Regions from separate parts of the Homo sapiens genome. Here region 1 is linked to region 2. The links are contacts of gene promoters, found by promoter capture Hi-C in blood cells and fetal thymus (Javierre and others, 2016). All regions are on one chromosome and are shown on one strand. Each heading gives the region's core, a stretch centred on a gene start or on the middle of the fragment in contact. The rest is flanking DNA. Distances are from core to core; before and after follow the strand shown.

Evidence for each region. The method cuts DNA at HindIII sites, captures the fragments that hold promoters and counts their contacts. A CHiCAGO score of 5 or more calls a contact.
Region 1: a fragment that was not itself captured here is called in contact with the fragment with the promoter of HDX in region 2 in 1 of 17 cell types (erythroblasts); the score reaches 7.2 in erythroblasts.

The regions. Positions count from the first base shown.
Region 1 is chrX:85,042,758-85,047,431 of GRCh38, forward strand. APOOL (apolipoprotein O like) reads left to right here. Exons shown (of 9, transcript NM_198450.6): 2 at 3,689-3,793. Among named protein-coding and RNA genes, the nearest start is that of APOOL, 41 kb to the left of the region's middle. The HindIII fragment of the contact is 788 bases long and covers 2,859-3,646 here.
Region 2 is chrX:84,500,548-84,505,654 of GRCh38, forward strand. HDX (highly divergent homeobox) reads right to left here and starts at 1,906. Exons shown (of 11, transcript NM_001177479.2): 1 at 1,795-1,906. RefSeq lists a silencer at 1,930-2,079. The HindIII fragment of the contact is 2,765 bases long and covers 1-2,459 here.

The sequences.
Region 1 (4,674 bases), core at 2,003-4,502, 540 kb after region 2:
AGCGATGCAAGGATGGTTCAGCATATGCAGATCAGTTAGTGTGGTACATCATATCAACAGAATGAAGGATTAAAATCATAATAATCATTTCAACTGATGGTGAAAAAGCATTTGATAAAATTCAACATCAGTTCATGATAAAAAACCTTCAAAAAACTTGCTATCACAGGAAGCTCGCCCTGTATTTTTCCCTGGAGAAATGGTACAGTATTCTGTAAATCAGTATTCACAGCTACTTTATAGAATATAACTGCTGGAAATAACAAGAATCAGCTATATTTTTATTGCAGGCACAGTTGGAGGGGGTGAGTCTTACGGGTAAGTTACCTCATGCTCATATTTTAGCCCTGCTGTTTGTAAATTTCCATGTGAGAGATATCTGTTTTAGGACCTGTTATATTTTGTAGAGAGCCAGTATTTAATCTCTCATTGATTTTAAATAAGTCGTAATTTTGACTTGACGAGTTATTATTTCGAGTTACAAATAGTTTTAAGTTAAGGTCTTTCCTCTCGTGAAAACTCGATTATCTCTGCTCACTTTTAATGCTGTTTGATTAATGACAGCCTCATGAGGCTGTAAGTTTTTTATAACACCCCAAACTCTAATAACTTTTTGAATATCTTATTTGGTTTTCTAAATTGGAGGCTGGCAATTTTTTTTTTTTTTGTAAATGGCCACATGGTAAATGTTTTAGGCTTTGCAGCATGCATAAGATTTCTTGTCATATATTCTTCTTTGTTTTTACAAATCTTTAAATATGTTTTTTAAAAACATTTTAAACTTAGAGTCCAGGCCAGATTTAGCCCAGAGTTGTAGCTTGCCAGTCTTTTTTCAGAAATTTTCAATGTGCTGTACCATTAGCTTTCCCTCTTTAAGATAGTGACATGTACTTCACCAGTATAACTTAGACTTGTAGATACCCTAGTGTGCCAGTCTTCCTGATTTCTTTTGACAAAAATTGCAACCTTTTTTTGTTTGGAGGTAATAAATATGTTGGATAGATTTTATTGTTATCACTGTTCTCACTAGAGCCTGATTAGCATGAAATACATGTGCAAAGAAAAATGAGGAATAAGCAGAGCCACTTAATTTTTTTATTCAGCAAACAGAAGGAATGGGAAACTAAACTTAATTGCCTATGTACCAAGTGTAAGCCATTTTAATATAACTCCTTATTTAATCCTTGTGATAATCAACAGGATGGCATACACATTTTTTCAGATATTTAACCTAATAATAGTTAACCTAATTAAGACATTTTCTAGAATTTTCTGCAATGATGGGCTTGTTTTATATCTGTGCTCTACATTATGGCTGTTGAGCACTTGAAATGGAACTAATGTGACTGAAGTTTTTATTTATTAATAATTTTAATTTCAATTTAAATAACCACATGTGGCTAGTAGTAACCATACTGGGCAGCACAACTTGAAGAGCTTCAATAATTGATTCAAGTTTAGACAGTAAGTTCCGTGTAACTCCTAAGCTCATATTTATGTGTGTGTGTGTGTGTATATATATATATATGTATTTTTTTGTTGAGACAGAGTTTTGCTCTTGTTGCCCAGGCTGGAGTGCAGTGGTGCTATTTCGGCTCGCTGCAACCTCCACCTCCTGGGTTCAAGTGATTCTCCTGCCTCAGCCTCTCAAGTAGCTGGGATTACAGGCATGCACCACCACACTCAGCTAATTTTGTATTTTCAGTAGAGACAGGGTTTCACCATGTTGGTCAGGCTGGTCTTGAACTCCTGACCTCAGGTGATCCACCCGCCTCGGCCTTCCAAAGTGCTGGGATTACAGGCATGAGCCACCACTCCCGGCCCTAAGCTCATATTTTTTTTCCATTGTGCCATACTGCCTCCTCAATAAAAGTCAAGGAATCTATGAAGACAGTAGGAAAGAATGGGTGGACCTTTATTACCTTACAGAGTAAAAAATGTGGAGAAAGTACTTAGGCAATTTTCAAGGTATATTAACTTTTAGGCCATGAGCTCAATTAGTAAATCCATAATCTGGAATATTAGATCATAATTATCAGCAATATCTATGAAATTCTTTTATAGTCTACATATTATTATTACATTATATGAAGTAACATGAGTATACTCTGTGATCATTAGTGTGTTGAAAAAATTCAGCATACTTTGAAAGTATTTGTCTTATATCCAGGGAGTAGTCTCTTAAGAAGAAGTAAAGTCTAGTCAGGTATTTCAAAAAAAGCTTTTCAATGTTATAAAATTTTACATCCTTCCTATAATATAGAGATTTTATTAACAAAATTTCCCTGGTTCATGGGGACCATACTTGCTGGCATCAGTTTTAATATACATTTAAATTATACCTAACATAGGTATGGTGTGGAAATCTTGTTATTTCATTAATGAATACCAACTGGGTATAAGAAATAAAAAAATTGATGTCTTTAAGGGATGCATGTGCAGATAAATCATTCTGTGATGCTGTTTCCTGTACTAGAAGGAGGCATGGGGGAGGAGAATAAAAAAAAATTTATCTTCTTAGTGTTGACTCTTAATTTTACCCTGTATTTTTACAGCCCCAATCTAAATCAGAGTCCTGCCCAGTTTAAACAGGAAATTACTTAACTGATTGATGCCTGAGTAGCTTCCCTTGCTCTTCTCAGAAAATATTAAAAACAGTGTCAGAAATGAAGTATAGGTACTATCACTGTCATTGGAGAACATTTAGAATCCTTTAGCCAGTGATTCTTCCAGGTGTTGCACAATTTTATTTGTGTGTAAAACAAGGAGACTGCTTCCCTCATAATGTCCTTTGTCAAATTCAGGAAGCTTCTTTCCCATCTAAAGAATCAGAGTGTTAAAATATTTGTACCTTGGAAAGCTTTACAGTTGGCCTTGTTGAATGGATAATCTTTGGGAATTATTTTGGTACCTGAATAACACTAGAAGACTTTATTCTTAGAGCCAGTACTTTTCCTCATTCTTAATTCAAATCAAGTTATAGCTAAAACAAAGATCACTTTTTGCTTTAGATTTAGCAAGAAACAGGTAAAAGGGAATGCATTGGGAAAATCAGGGGCAAAGGATTTATAATAGAAAGAATTCATTTTTTATGGATAATGTTAATATAAATTGTATTTCAAGATGCAGCCTGCATCACTCAGTACTCCAGACCACTCTTATCCTTTACTTTCTCCAGAGCATTTATCAACTTATAATATAACATATAGTTTATTGTGTTTATTGCCTGCCTCCTCTCTACTGGAATGTCATTTGTATGAGAACAGGAATCTTTGTTTTGTTCACTGATATATTCTAAGCACTAAGACCAGAGTCTGGCACATAGTAGGTGTTCAATTGATGTTTGTGGACTGAATGAATATCAAGACCAATCCCACTCCATTCCTCAGATTTTAGTAATTATTACATTGCTATATTATTACATAATAATATTCCAGATAAATATTATATTGCTATATTTCTTATGAAGTAGTTAACAAACAGGTAAAAATAGTGCTCTGCCATCCAGTATGAGAAGATAATTTTATGAACTATGTCTTAAAAATGTCTGAGGTAATTTGGAGTGTTTGAGTATTTAATATATTAAAGTGAAACCAATAGATTTCCTGAGATTCCTCCAGTATTTATTAGGAAATGGAAGATGGAAAGCTTTTCAACTAAAAAGATGTTTTTGATATATCTTTCTTAGATGGGAAAACTGACAACCATGCCTGCAGGTCTGATATATGCATCTGTAAGTGTACATGCAGCCAAACAAGAGGAATCCAAAAAGCAGCTAGTGAAACCAGAGCAGGTAATTTGCCTACAAAGGTTTATGAACTTTGTATAATATCAAGATGACACAAAAGCTATATTTTTTAAAATTATCTTTGCCCATCAAAAATGTCTTAGAAGTCTTTGTTAGGTAGATATTAAAAGTTGAGAGAAATAGTTATGAAGTATCTCAAAAGACAATATGTAACTCAAACATCTAAAATTCTAACTCCAGTGAAAAACAACTAGTGATTTTTCTTAATGAATAATCAATAAGTAGTGGAGGGTGTTAGACGTTCTAGGCAGTCTGATTTTTCTTTCTTGAAAAACTTACACAGGTACATTCAGTATTAGGAAACTTCAGTTTAACAAATTCATTAAGATCTCAGTTTTGGAAGTGACCTTAGATGTTTTCTAGATCAACCTTCTGTATGGTACTGTAATTCCCTCTATAGTAGGCACATTTAGTGGCCATATATCTTCTACATGAATAAAACTCTAGGTAAAGGAGCCTAAGGAGCCCATTCCGTTTTCTAAATCCTCTCATTTAACTTAAGGTCCTTTCTTATATCAGACAGAAATTTGTCTCATAATAACTTCTACCTGTTGGTACTGTATCTCTTGCATTGGTGCCATACAGAAAACTCTCTTTCAAAAAACAAGCCTTTAAATATCAGTTATACTTTAAGTAATTTTGCTTCCAGGATAAACATTTTAAAGCGTTTAGTAGCTTCAACTATTTCTCATACATCACAGCTTTGAGTTCCTCACTATCATGATCAGCCTCTGCCAAGCATGTTCAGGATAGTGTTTTCTTCAGGTGTAAGTAGTTTGTTTTTCTTTTTAAAAAACATTTTGGTTTTTGGTGCCATGACTTGGATGTATGAACCACGGTGTTTTGACTGCTACAGGATAGAGTCA
Region 2 (5,107 bases), core at 656-3,155:
CGTGGGAATTCTAGGAAAAGTGAGGTCAGTAACACTTGCATTAGATTAATTTGGAAGGCACTTGTGGAGGGGTGGAATTTGAGTTGAGTTTCCAAAGTGGGTAAGATGTGAATTATGTAGAAGGAGGACATCCTACGTGGAGGGGACAGTAATGGTATAAGGAGCAAAGATATAAAGGTAGATTGTTCTCACTAACTGAACATTAAAGAGAGTTGTGCCCTGAAGAATAAAGGAAAATAAGGCTCCTGCATTACAATGAGGCCAGATTATGAAGTTCTTTAAAATTCGGGTGGAATTAGGCTTGAAACAATAGAAAATAAGGGGCCAAGAATATGTTGGTTAAAGAAAGTGATTTGTTGAAAGAAGTGTTCACAGACCACTAAGGATTTGGGGCACAGGTGAAGACTGCCTAGGAAGCTCCTACAGTGACTACATGGGTGCTGATGAGAATTTAGATTGTAAAGGAGGAACGTGTGAGAAGGCTTTCAAAGGAAAATTTACCAGTACTTGATAATCCCTTAACTATGAGAAATAGAGAAAAATCCAGATTCCTCTGTAAAATTGTCAGGAGTCTATGATCAGACTGTGGAGGGCAATTAATAACAATACTGTACAATCTATTCATCAATAATAGACAGGCAGGTTGTTCTTCATTGTTCCCCACAACTGCTGAGTAATAAAAGCCTTAATATAAGTAATATAACAGCCTTCCCAATGAAGGGGTGCGGGAAAGGGCTTCTCAAAATAATATTTGACTTCAGTGATTCTAGCAGAGACACAGAGGAAGAAGATGGACTCAGCACCAAACTTGATATGGAGACTAAATATTTATAAGAGATTGTCCCAAGAAGAGAAAAAGGCAAGAAAGGAAAATTTCTTACTCTGAGCCTCCACAATGGACTTCATTCTGAGTCTTTCCAAAGAATTTAAGGTTCAAAATCATTGTCACCTCAAATCAGAGCTCCTTTAAGATTAAAAGTTAGATTCATTTGAATAATTAGTGTTTATTTTTCCAAACAGTTTCTTATCTGATAAACTTCTATTTCACAAATTCTTCTAGAGTTCATTCCGTTATTCAACATCTAATATCTGGAAATTTAGAATGTGCCTTCTCAAATTTATAAGGCTCATTTTGAAGCTGGATTTACTCAGTAGGCCAGTTTAAACTAAATGGCAGATCTCTCCCCATCAACTGGTGCTTGAAACATCACAAGGCCTGGGATGTTCCCTGGGTCTCTACTTTCCAAATTCAGCACAGAAATGGCTCAGCCCCACCTCTTCCAGTGAAACCGAAACAGCGCCTGTGCAAACTCCACGCCTATTCTCCTCACAGTGACCCACCCCGCCCCCACCAAGGTGCTAATGCGCAGGCGCTACGCTCTCAGTGCCTTTGAGTAGGGCTGTGAGAAATCTACTGTCCAGTGAAATCTAGAAGTGGTAGAATTCAATCCCCTCCTTTCTTCGGAGGCAGAGGCGCCACTTCCTCCTACTACCCGTCCAGAAGCGCGTCCCAAACATCGCTCTCTCTCCGAGCAAGGTCCTTCGCTCTCTGGCAATCCCCATTGTATCCCTATCCGCAGCTCGTTTCTAATCTCACTCAGCCGCCAGCCTTCGCTAGGAGGATAGAGGCACTTGGCTCCCTAGGATCCGCACCAGTTTTTTGTCTGCCTGTTTAGGCCACGGAACCTATGGACCCCCCCACCCCCAACCTCGCCCCAAACTAGGAAAAGCATTATCCCGGTGCTTTGCCCTCCCTCCTTCGCCCTTCTCACCCACTTAGTGTTGAGTGCTTACCTCGGGTGTGGTGCGGTTACGAAAGGAATCAGCGGAACCCAGATCAGGCCGCTGCTGGGGCAGGCGGATTCAGCGAGATTTTTCCTGGGTCTCCAGTGCCGCTTCAGACAATGAAATCAGCGTGTCCGATCATCAATTCTCATCATGATCGTGACGTCACAAAAGACAGCGGCCAATGGGAGCCTGCGATCAGCTCAGGACAGTCCCTGGCCTCAGCCCAGAACCCAAGAGTTGGGAGGGGGGAAGAGAGATGGCTGCCTGCAACTGGACTGCCTCTTCCTCACACAAATCAGCTACATCTACGGCCAGGGCTCTCTATACCTTCCTGAATAGCTGTGAACACCGAGCATCCCTGTGACTATAGTAGTTACATGCCAGCCATTTGAGCAGGTGCTGCCTGGCCTTCCAACTTGACATTGGGTTTTAACAAAATTGTTACATGCTGCCAAAATCAAATGATAGCATAAGGAAATACAGTCCTTTGTGGTCAGTGTTCGATTGACAGGTAAATATTCAGTTTTACTAAAATCAATAAGGTGTCCATCGAGCCTTTAGAATTTTACAGTAAAAGCAAGTGTACTATTATACGTGACTGGTTGGCTCTGATGACTGAGGAAAGAAACTATGGTTTTTATTCATCCAACCTCAATTCCTATTCTGGCAGAAGCTTCTTGGGTGATCACCATTATACCATTCCAGAAAAGAAGTCAAGCCACATGTTACATCATTTAACAGTCACTTGATATACTTCCCAGATTTGCTGGATGCCATGAGAGATATAGAATTCATTGATTCTCTGCTATCATAGAACTTGCAACATCGTTTGGAAGACAAGATTAGCACACAGTAAATATTCACAACAATAAAATAAAGTACATGATCATGTGCTCAGTCATTAACTACAGACAAGAGCTACATTATTTAATTATTGGAGACATCAGTGAGGTGAAAAGTCAGGGAAGCATTTTATGTAATTAAAACTTGAGATGGTTCTTGAATGGTGGATAAGAGCAGATGGAAGTCACCGTCTTAAAGGGGAAAGATAGGCAAAGGTAGAGACGTATAAATTCATATGATGTGAGGAAGCCCATGATGAAATCAGCTTGACAAATAGAGGGCATATGCTGAGGACTAGTGGTAGATGGAATTGGCTAATAATAAAAGCCTTTGAAAATAGGCAGATAACTTTTATTTGATTAAAAGCCACCAAAAGCCATAAAGCATGTGACCTCAATCCTCTATAGTCAATTATCTACAGAGGAGTTTAGGTGATTTTTTAAAACAAAAGCCAGATTATGCTCAACTTCAGATTGTTCAATGGTTTCCTTTCACATATACAATAAAATGCAGATTTCTTACCATGTCCTCAAAGCCCTAAATGATCTGGCCTCCGCCATCTTTCTGACCTCACCTCCTGTCACTCAGCCACTAATTCACAAATATATTAATCTTCTATTTCTCAAACAAGTCAAGCTCATGTCCACAGCAGTGACCCTGTACTGTTGTACTGTCTGATCTTTATATGACTTACTCCATCACTTGATTGAAATCTTTGCTCAAATGCAACCTCTTTAAAGAGGTTTTCCTATTTAAAATTGTGATATCCTTAACACTCTCTATACCCTTTTTTCTGTTTCATTTTTCTTCATAGTATTTATTATTATTAAATGTATTTTATATATTTAGTTATTGCAAATGTAAGCTCTATGAAGGCAGGGATTTTTGTCTGTTTTGTTTATTATTATATCCCTCAAATCTAGAAAGCCTCTAAATACAAAGTAGACAAATAAGTAAGTACGTATTGAATGAATGACTGAAAGCACATTTTTCAAGTCATTAATTTGCATTTTCAGTAACATTGCGATAGGCTGGAGTGAGAGAGACCAGTTAGACAGTTGTAATGCTAACCCAGCTTCTAGGTGACACACCCCTAGATTAGGGTGTTAAAAATGATGAAATATGAGACTTTCAAAGAAGGAATTATATGGGTAAAGTGGAGGATTCAGAAAAAGCCTATTGATAATTGATTAACGTATTCATAAATTACGTTTATGAATTACCTGAAACTGAAGTGATATGAGAAAAAGGATCAGAGTCCCTACCCTTGAAGGGTTTATAATGCAAAGACACAAGAAGACTTGTATGAAATCACAGTACAAATAGAGGCAATTAAATTAATCCAATTTTTCCTTCCTCTTTTCCCCTCTCACTCTGTAGCTAAGCCACTAGTATGTTTGAAGACTGTACCTTCAAATTAGGCCCCAAATCTGAATACTCTGTACCTCCTCTATCACCGTTACACTAAAGTCACTGTAACTTCTAGTTTGAAATACTGCAAAAGCATCTTACATCGTTTATTTTCTTCCACTCTTGTCCTTCTTCAAAAGTTTCTCTTAACATCAGTCAAAATATTCTTTATAAAGTTTGAATCAGACCATATCACTACCTGATTTAAAGCCCTCCAAATGCATCTCATTACATTAACAATAAAGTCCCAAGTCCTTTCTATGGTGTATTTCCCACCATTTGTTCCTGCCCTGGCTCATTATGCTGTAGCTACTCTGGTCTTTTTGGTTATCTGTTTTCTCTCTGGAATGCCTATTTCCTCTTCAGAGACTTTGCATTTGCTATTATTTCTTGGGAAACTCTTTCCCCAGATCTTCACATAGCATACTTCACATAATTCAGGCTGTCTGCTAAAATGTTACCTTCTCAGATGGGACTTCATGGACCAATCAATTTAAAATAGCATTGCCCCACCACCACCACAATTATCTGTCTCCTGTATCTTCTTGCTGTGCTTAATTTTTCTCATATCACTATGGAAAAATACATTATTAGTTTTGTTGGTTAGTTATTTTGCCTTTCCCCAACAGAATGAAAAGTTCAAGGGGGTAGGAAGTTGCCTCTCTTATTACTGTTATATCTCCAGTACCTAGAGTTGTAGTGGTACCTAGCATTAAGTAGGCACTCAATGGGTCTTTGTTGAATGAATAGATAGGGGAGAGCATAGATTGTGTAGTGCAGTAATAGGTATTCAGGGATGAGAGATGTTTTCAATACATGCCTAAGATACCGGTACCTGTCCTGTTCACAATATATCAATTAAAAGCATGTTTATTGAACTTGTAAGTAAAAAGTATCTAAGTAGAATAATTAAACCATGGATATTAACCAAGATTTCAAAGATCTCAAAAGACTCAACAAACAAATGCAATAAAATGAAGTTTGACATGGATAAACAGTAAGTCTTGATTCTAGGTTTACAAAAATCAGTTGCATAAGTACAGGAAGGGCAATAAACACCTAAGTT